3 separate regions of the Homo sapiens genome follow, and regions 2 and 3 are each linked to region 1. The links are contacts of gene promoters, found by promoter capture Hi-C in human tissues and cell types (Jung and others, 2019). All regions are on one chromosome and are shown on one strand. Each heading gives the region's core, a stretch centred on a gene start or on the middle of the fragment in contact. The rest is flanking DNA. Distances are from core to core; before and after follow the strand shown. Region 1 holds the start of OCM (oncomodulin). Region 2 overlaps USP42 (ubiquitin specific peptidase 42). Region 3 overlaps USP42 (ubiquitin specific peptidase 42).

Region 1 (2,743 bases), core at 244-2,743:
CTCCTCCACTTGGTTTTGTCCATTTTCCTTTTCCCTCCTCATCTCTTCTGTGCCTCCCCCTCCCCCTGGCCCACTTTACAGGCTGTGTGGCTGAGCCCCCAGCATCCCTGGTCTAATTGGTAGGGGGAAATGCAATCACTGGATTTCAACAGGCTAAATGGCCTTTGGCGCTTTTTTTTTTTTTTTTTTTTTTTTTTTTTTTTTTGAGACAGAGTCTCACTCTGTCACCAGGCTGGAGTGCAGTGGCGTGATCTCGGCTCACTGCAACCTCTGCCTCCCGGGTTCAACTGATTCTCCTGCTTCAGCCTCCCAAGTAGCTGAGATTACAGGTGTGCACCCCCATGCCCAGCTCATTTTTGTATTTTTAATAGAGACAGGGTTTTGCCATGCTGGCCAGGTTGGTCTTGAACTCCTGACCTCAAGTGATGCACCGGCCTCGGCCTCCCAAAGTGTTGGGATTACAGGTGTGAGCACGACACCTGGCCTTTCAGTGATGTCTTGCTTTCATGTTTAGTAGGTTTCTTTTGTCTTACAGATGTGTAATCGTGTGCTCAGATCCCAGATCTCTATAATTTTAGTTATCTAATAAATAGCAGTTTTCTTCTCTGATTCCATGAATTTTCCAGCCAACCTCTTATTTATTTATTTATTTATTTATTTAGAGCCAGAGTCTCACTCTGTCGTCCAAGCTGGAGTGCAGTGTAGCGATCATAGCTCACCACAGCCTCAACCTCCTGGGCTTCAGTGATCCTCCTACCTTAGTTTCCAGAGTAGCTGGGACCACAGGCACATGCCACCATGCCCCGCTAGTTTTTATTTTTATTGTTATGTTGTAGAGATGGAGTCTTCCTATGTTGCCCAGGCTGGTCTCAAACTCCTGGGCTCAAACAGTCCTCTCACCTTGGCCTCCAAAAAGTGTTGGGATTACAGATGTGAGCCACCATGCCTGGTCTACTTTTTTTTTTTTTTTTTGTAGACAGAGTCTTGCTCTGTTGCCCAGGCTGGAGTGCAGTGGCATGATCTCAGCTCACTGCAACTTCTGCCTCCCGGGTTCAAGCAATTCTCTGCCTCAGCCTCCCGAGTAGCTGGGATTACAGGCACCCACCACCACGCCCGGTTAATTTTTTTGTATTTTTAGTAGAGATGGGGTTTCACCATCTTGGCCAGGCTGGTCTCGAACTCCTGACCTCGTGATCCACCCGCCTCGGCCTCCCAAAGTGCTGGGATTACAGGTGTGAGCCACTGCGTCTGGCCGCCTGGCCTACATTTTGATTTTGTGTTGACTCGCTGGAGGTGCAAAGCTGTGAGGAAATCCCACCCCCGCCTCACGTCCCCTCTACCTCGGCATTCCTGGAGCGCTGCTGCAATGTCGTCAGCACTGAGCACGTCCGTGATGCTCATTTTCTACCTACTCACACAGAATAAATGAGAGGCGATAAGCCACAAACAGGAATGTGCACATCCAGGGGAAACACATCTTCCCAGGCCCACTGAAACTGTATGTGTGTCTAGATTATTTTTTTTTTTAAATTAAGACGGAGTCTCACTCTGTCACCCAGGCTGGAGTGCAAGAGCGTGATCTCGGCTCACCGCAACCTCCGCCTCCTGGGCTCAAGTGATTCTCCTGCCTAAGCCTTCCCAGTAGCTGGGATTACAGGTGCGCACTACCATGCCTGGCTAATTTTTGTGTTTTTAGTAGAGACGGGGTTTTGCCATGTTGGCCAGGCTGGTCTTGAGCTCCTGACCTCAGGTGATCTGCCTGCCTTGGCCTCACAAAGTGCTGGGATGACAGATGCAAGCCACCGAGCCAGGCCTGTCTAGAATTTTTAAAATGTGATAAGCATGGTTTTGTATTAAGTGACGGGACAGAATATCCAAATTAAAACCAGATACGGAAAACACCCCAGCCTTTTTTGTCTCAGAGCCTTCTTTTGAATACATGCCAAAAATGGAAAAAAAAAATGACCCAAAGAAGGATTCAATTGTTTTCTTATAAAAATTATACTGACATAATCAGTCATTTGCATAGGCAGCCGTAAACCATGTTACACATGCACTGGCATTTTCCTACAGCAGCCCGAGAGATGCAATGTTGCAAATTCCACGTGGGAAAGGATACAGTTTGGGCTGCTTGCAGACATTCTGTGGAAGAAGGCATGCACCTGTCCTGAAAGGTGGGAAGCAGATGGATGAAAAGCCCATCTCCCAGAGATTAAAATCCTTCCAGGTGTCAGAGCCACCGGAAAACAGGAGTCTAAGCACCTGAGCCTAATATGAATGCATGCAGTGAAGAAAAGAGTCTGGGGTCTGATGTGTCCACCAGTTACTCACCGTTTTCGGTTTCCCCCCAGGAAGAATCAGGAAAAAGAGTTGAAGGAGCAAAACAACAGATGTGTTTTTGCTACCTTACTGACCTACCTTATATAGGCTAGAAAAAGTGATAGTTACAACCTCTTAGATTTCCTTTTCAAGGATCAAGTGGATGCAGCTCAAATGTCTTGTCTTACTCATGAAACCTCTTTTTTTTTTTTTTTCTATTTATGTCTCAAGGGAATGTGGGTGGGAACAGCCAATTGTAAAAAAAAAAAAAAAACAACAACAAACTTCAACAAACCTTAACTAAGATTTCAATTCTGCAAACGAACCCTGTTGGCAAAGTGTGGAGAAGGTTCTAGATGCCTGGTAAGGTGGAGATGGTGGCCTGAACTAAGACAAACACATACAGGGTGCTCTGTAAGCTGAA
Region 2 (2,743 bases), core at 122-2,621, 260 kb before region 1:
AGCTTAAATCACATGAAACTGCCAACACTCCACCAGTTTAGACCTACAAACGTGACAACTTCATGACTGAACCATGTGTGTATCAGTGGATACACACACACACAGAGCAATGACATTTTCTTAAAAGACTAGGTTTAAAAATGTTAGTCATGTCTGCTATATAAATATGTATAAAAATAAATATATGTGGTCGGGCGTGGTGGCTCACACCTGTAATTCCAACACTTTGGGAGGCAGAGGCGGGTGGATCATGAGGTCAGGATATCGAGGCCATCCTGGCTAACATGGTGAAACCCCATCTCTACTAAAAATACAAAAATTAGCCAGGGGTAGTGGCAAGCACCTGTAGTCCCAGCTACTCAGGAGGCTGACGCAGGAGAAATCGCTGGAATCCGAGAGGCGGAGGTTGCAGTGAGCCAAGACTGCACCACTGCACTCCAGCCTAGGCGACAGAGTGAGACTCCATCTCAAAAATAAATGAATAAAAACAAATAAATACATGTATAAATAGCCAGGCATGGTGGCTCACGTCTGTAATCTCTGCACTTTGGGAGGCCAAGACGGGTGGATCACCTGAGGTCAGGAGTTCAAGGCCAGCCTGGCCAACATGGTGAAACCCCGTCTCTACTAAAACTACAAAATTAGCCAGGTGTGGTGGTACACGTCTGTAATCCCAGCTACTTGGGAGGCTGAGGCAGAAGAATCACTTGAACCTGAGAGGCAGAGGTTGTAGTGAGCCAAGATCGTGCCACTGCACTCCAGGCTTGGGGACAGAGCGAGACTCCATCTCAAATGAATGGATGAATGAATGCATGCATGCATGTGTAAACAATCCAAACCTGCCTGGCTAAATTTTGCCAGGCTTCAACAATATTTCAAAGGTTTTTGGCTTGTCTGTTGTGGTCTATCAATAATGCCAAGGGCCAATATAAGACCTCTTTAATCTTCAGTGGCTTTCTAGGCAAAAAGATTACAGTTTGTTACTGTATAATTACACATCCCTATAATTACCCAGTTAGATGCCAGATTAAGAGTTATAGTTTTGTTTGTATGCATTTTTTATTCCAACTCAATTAACAAGATGCAAAAGTTTACTGCAAAAACACACAGAATGTAAGAAAATTTCATGCACTTACCCATTTAAAATTCAAAAATTAAATAGAAAAAAGTAAAATTTATCCACCAATTTGCTAAGCTCTGAGTATATATTCTTTTAAGACTGTAATTAAGTTGGGCATAGTGGTGCACATCTGTAATCCCAGCTACTCAACTGGGGCAAGAGGATCACTTGAGCCAGGAGTTCAAGACTAGCCTGGGCAAAACAGTGAGACACAGTCTCACTTGAAAAAAAAAAAAAAGAAGAACCGAAAAAAGAGAATTAACCTTATTTATTTCTTATTTTATTTTTACTGCTGCTTGCAGAGCAGGGCTAATCCACAGGCAGTGTGTCCAGAGTAGCCTAATTAACTTTATTTTGACAATTTCTGTCACTGCGTATAGTAAAGTATTCATTCACCAAACTGAAACTAATTAAAAACTGTTTACAAAAACCTGTGAGACAATATCAGAATTAGTATTACTCAGCATAGAAATCCAAGTTTCAGAGCAAAGACACTATAAAACTTACCAATTATTTTAACATATTGATTTTTAATAGTTTAAAATTTGTTATATTAAATTGAATAGTCTTTAATATATTGTCATCTTTTGCTTTAAAGTTTCAAAATGTGTTTATATAGCAAATGTTTTACTAAAAATTTGTTATCAAAGACATAGCCACGTACGACAAAATGTATTTGTTTTCTAATACATGACGGGTTCGGTTTTTTTCACCAGTTGGACATTAAGAATAACTAGGTAATAGGCCAGGCATGGTGGCTCACGCCTGTAATCCCAGCACTTTGGGAGGCGGAGGCAGGTGGATCAACTGAGGTCAGGAGTTTGAGACCAGCCTGACCAACATGGAGAAACCCCATCTGTACTAAAAGTACAAAATTAGCCTGGCATAGTGGTACACGCCTGTGATCTCAGCTACTCGAGAGGCTGAGACAGGACAATCGTTTGAACCTGGGAGGTGGAAGCTGCAGTGAGCCGAAATAGCGCCACTACATTCCAGCCTAGGCGACAGAGCAAGACTCTGTCTCGAAAAAAAAAAAAAAAAAAAGTATAACTAGGTAATAAATACAAATATAAAACTACAATAGTTAATACTTACGCCGCATCTCATTGATGACAAACATTGGTTTAATAACGTCCCCAGGATTACTGAGTGCCTGGGTAATATGTGCTTGCATTGTACACATCATACAAAAGCCTTCTGCATGACCTGAAAGATAGATGATAATCCTCCAAATTAGCAAAATACAACCATATACACACATCAAGGCTAATTACAAATCAGGGGCACACACCTGAAATGAAATAATAGCTGCTATATGCATGCCTTGAGCTATCTACTTTTATGCATTTTCATTTACTTTTTTTTGTTCTTTTTTTTTTTTTTTTTTTTTTTTTTGAGATGGAGTCTCACTCTGTCACCCAGGCTGGAGTGCAGTGGTGTGACCCTGGCTCACTGCAACCTCGGCCTCCCCGGGTCCAAGCCATTTGCCTGCCTCAGCCTCCCAAGTAGCTGGGACTACTACATGCGCCACCATGCCTGGCTAATTTTTTTTTGTATTTTTAGTAGAGATGGGGTTTCACCATGTTAGCCAGGCTGGCCTCGAAATCCTGACCTCAGGCAATC
Region 3 (2,743 bases), core at 170-2,669, 240 kb before region 1:
TTTCCTTGAGACATGGTCTTACTGTCACCCAGACTGGAATAAAGTGGCACAATCATGGCTCACTGCAGCCTCAACCTCCTGGGCTCATGTGATCCTCCCACCTCAGTCTCCCAAGTAGCTGGGACTATAGGCGCACACCGCCAAGCCCAGATAATTTTTGTATTTTTTATAGAGACAGGGTTTCACCATGTTGCCCAAACTGGTCTCAAACTACTGAACTCAAGTGAGCCACCCGCCTCAGCCTCCCAAAACACATGAACCACCACACCTGGCCTAATTTTTGATTTTTTTTATATATAGAGATGAGTTCTCCCTACGTTGCCCAGGCTAGTCTTGAAATCCTGGGCTCAAGTGATCTACCTGCCTCGTTCTCCCAAAGTGCTGGGATTACAGGCATGAGCCACATACCCAGCCAAGATTTCTTAAAACACCTACAGCACAACGAATAAAAAGAAAAAAAAAGAAATGAAATTTCCCAAAACAAAAAATGCACTCTTTAAAAGACACTGAAAAGAATCAAAAGACAAATCCCAGCCTACATAATAAAAGACTTATATCGAGGATATATAAAGAACTCTCTAAGCTCAACAATAAGAAAACTACCAGTTTTCAAACGGGCAAAAGATTTCAACAGGCATTTTAGCAAAGGAAATATACGGATGGCAAATAACCACATGAAAAGATGTTCAAAACAAAAACAAAACAAAAAAGAAAAGAGGTTCAGCATTATTCATTATGAAAGTACAAATTAAAACCACAACAAAATACTACCACACTACACACCTATGGAGATGGCTAAAACTGAAGAAGACTGACCCCACCAAGTATTGGGAAGGATGTGGAGCAAATGGAAGATTCATTCACCAGTGGTGGGACTATAAAACACTGCAATCCCTTCTGGAAAGTCTGGAAGTCTCTTAAAATGTTAAAGTACACACCCACCCCAGGACCAAGCCATTTTACTCCTAGATATTTACCTAAGAGAAATGAAAACATGTCCTAACAAAGGCTTGTTTGCTAATGTTCATAGCAGCTTAATTTGTAACGGCACAAAGTGAAAAATGACCCAGATGCCCATCAATAGACAAATGGAGAAACAAATTGTGATCTAGCCATAAAATGGAATCCTACTCAACAATACGATCAAGTGATGCTACATGGCACAAATGGAATAATGTTGACAGGATTATGCTGAGTGAAAGAAGCGAGATAATATGAGAATATATACTGTACAATTCCACATAAGCAACACTCTAGAAAATCTAAACTAATTCATCTATAGTGACGGAAAGCAGATCAGTGGTTGCCGGGCAGGAGGGTGGGGAAAGGATGGAAAGGGTGATTTCAAAGGGGCATCGGGGAACTTTTGAGGGTGATGAACATGTTCATTATCTTAATCTTGATGCTAGTTCCACGGGTGTATACAAATGTCAAAATGCATCAAATTATGTATTTTAAATATGTGTAATTTGGTATATATCAATTATACTTCAGTAAAGCTGGGAAAAGAGAGAGAGAAAGAGAGGGAGGAAGGGAGGGAGGGAGGAAGCAAGCACAAAAACTACCAGTAGCATAAAAGATAGGCACCTAATTCTGGACATCGGGAGCTTCTGAATTTTGTCTTGGTCCTCTCTCTTGCTGTCCAGGTGCTAGTGCTGGGTTTTCATCCACACCCTACTTTCATTAAGCGCAAAAGTGATAGGAAAGCTGTCTGTGGGGAATGAATTATGGACTGAGAAAGGGAGAAAATGAGGGCAAACAGAACGTTAATTCTGGCATAACAAACACCCCTAGGTAGGTGGTGAGATTCTAGGTGATTTTTCTTTGGTTTCTTTAAGTTTTTCTGTACTTTCCAAATTCTTTACAAGCATTACTTGGCTCTTTGGAGGGAAAAAAAAATCAGTTTTAAAAGAACCAATTTAAATTCTCCATTAAGTAAAGAACTATTCAAAAAGAAACCAAGGATTTTTTTTTTTAAATCCTAGTAACTAATAGCCCCAGAACATACACACATGAATCTGAGCCATTAATTTAGATCAAAGAACAGGGAGACTGCATTTATAAAGAATGAAGGATATTTACAACATATGGAGAAGGCCAAAACCTCAAAAACGGATGTTCCAAATTCTGAAGGTTGATAGTCAACCACTGAGTTGGCTTCCATCTAATTAAAGACATTTTAATAAGCTTTAACTGATTTCCTGCCATGTAGGTTGAAGATGAAGTTCTCAAATGCTAAAGGGAAAGTCTAGTCTGAATTCCAGGAGGTTGCGGGCAGTGACAAGAGAGTCCCTCTCCTCTAAGGCTTATAAGCATGTAAATGATTGAGCCTTCCAACATGATATAAATGCCAGGAGAGGCAGGATTTCTTAACCTCGCCTGTCCCAAGTTGCTGGCATCAGACGTTTTTTTTTTTTTTTTTTGAGACAGGGTCTCTTTCTGTTGTCTAGGCTGAAGTACAGCAGTGCGATCACAGCTCACTGCAGTCTCAACCTTCCAGACTCAGGTGACCTTCCTGTCTCACCCTCCTGAGTATGCTGGGACTAGAGGTGTGTGCTGCCATGCTAGACTAATTTTTATTTTTATTTTTAGTAGAGATGGGGTCTTACTATGTTGTCCAGGTTGGTCTCCAACTCTTGGGCTCGAGTGATCCTTTCTCCTCGGTCTCTCAAAGTGCTGGGATTACAGGTGTGAGCCCAGCTAATGTCAGATATTTCTGTCACATTTTTTTAGTAAGTGTAGA

Evidence for each region. Contacts are between HindIII fragments. The study calls those that stand out against the background at their distance.
Region 2: a contact is called between a fragment that was not itself captured here and the fragment with the promoter of OCM in region 1, in 1 of the 25 tissues and cell types used here (stomach).
Region 3: a contact is called between a fragment that was not itself captured here and the fragment with the promoter of OCM in region 1, in 1 of the 25 tissues and cell types used here (dorsolateral prefrontal cortex).

What each region holds. Positions count from the first base shown.
Region 1 is chr7:5,879,548-5,882,290 of GRCh38, reverse strand. It overlaps OCM (oncomodulin), which reads right to left and starts at 1,493. Exons shown (of 4, transcript NM_001097622.2): 1 at 1,341-1,493. The coding sequence starts at 1,401. The HindIII fragment of the contact is 18,194 bases long and covers 1-2,743 here.
Region 2 is chr7:6,135,424-6,138,166 of GRCh38, reverse strand. It overlaps USP42 (ubiquitin specific peptidase 42), which reads right to left. Exons shown (of 18, transcript NM_032172.3): 4 at 2,216-2,326. Among named protein-coding and RNA genes, the nearest start is that of USP42, 32 kb to the right of the region's middle. The HindIII fragment of the contact is 7,739 bases long and covers 1-2,743 here.
Region 3 is chr7:6,115,784-6,118,526 of GRCh38, reverse strand. All of the region lies in intron 3 of USP42 (ubiquitin specific peptidase 42), which reads right to left. Among named protein-coding and RNA genes, the nearest start is that of USP42, 12 kb to the right of the region's middle. The HindIII fragment of the contact is 7,776 bases long and covers 1-2,743 here.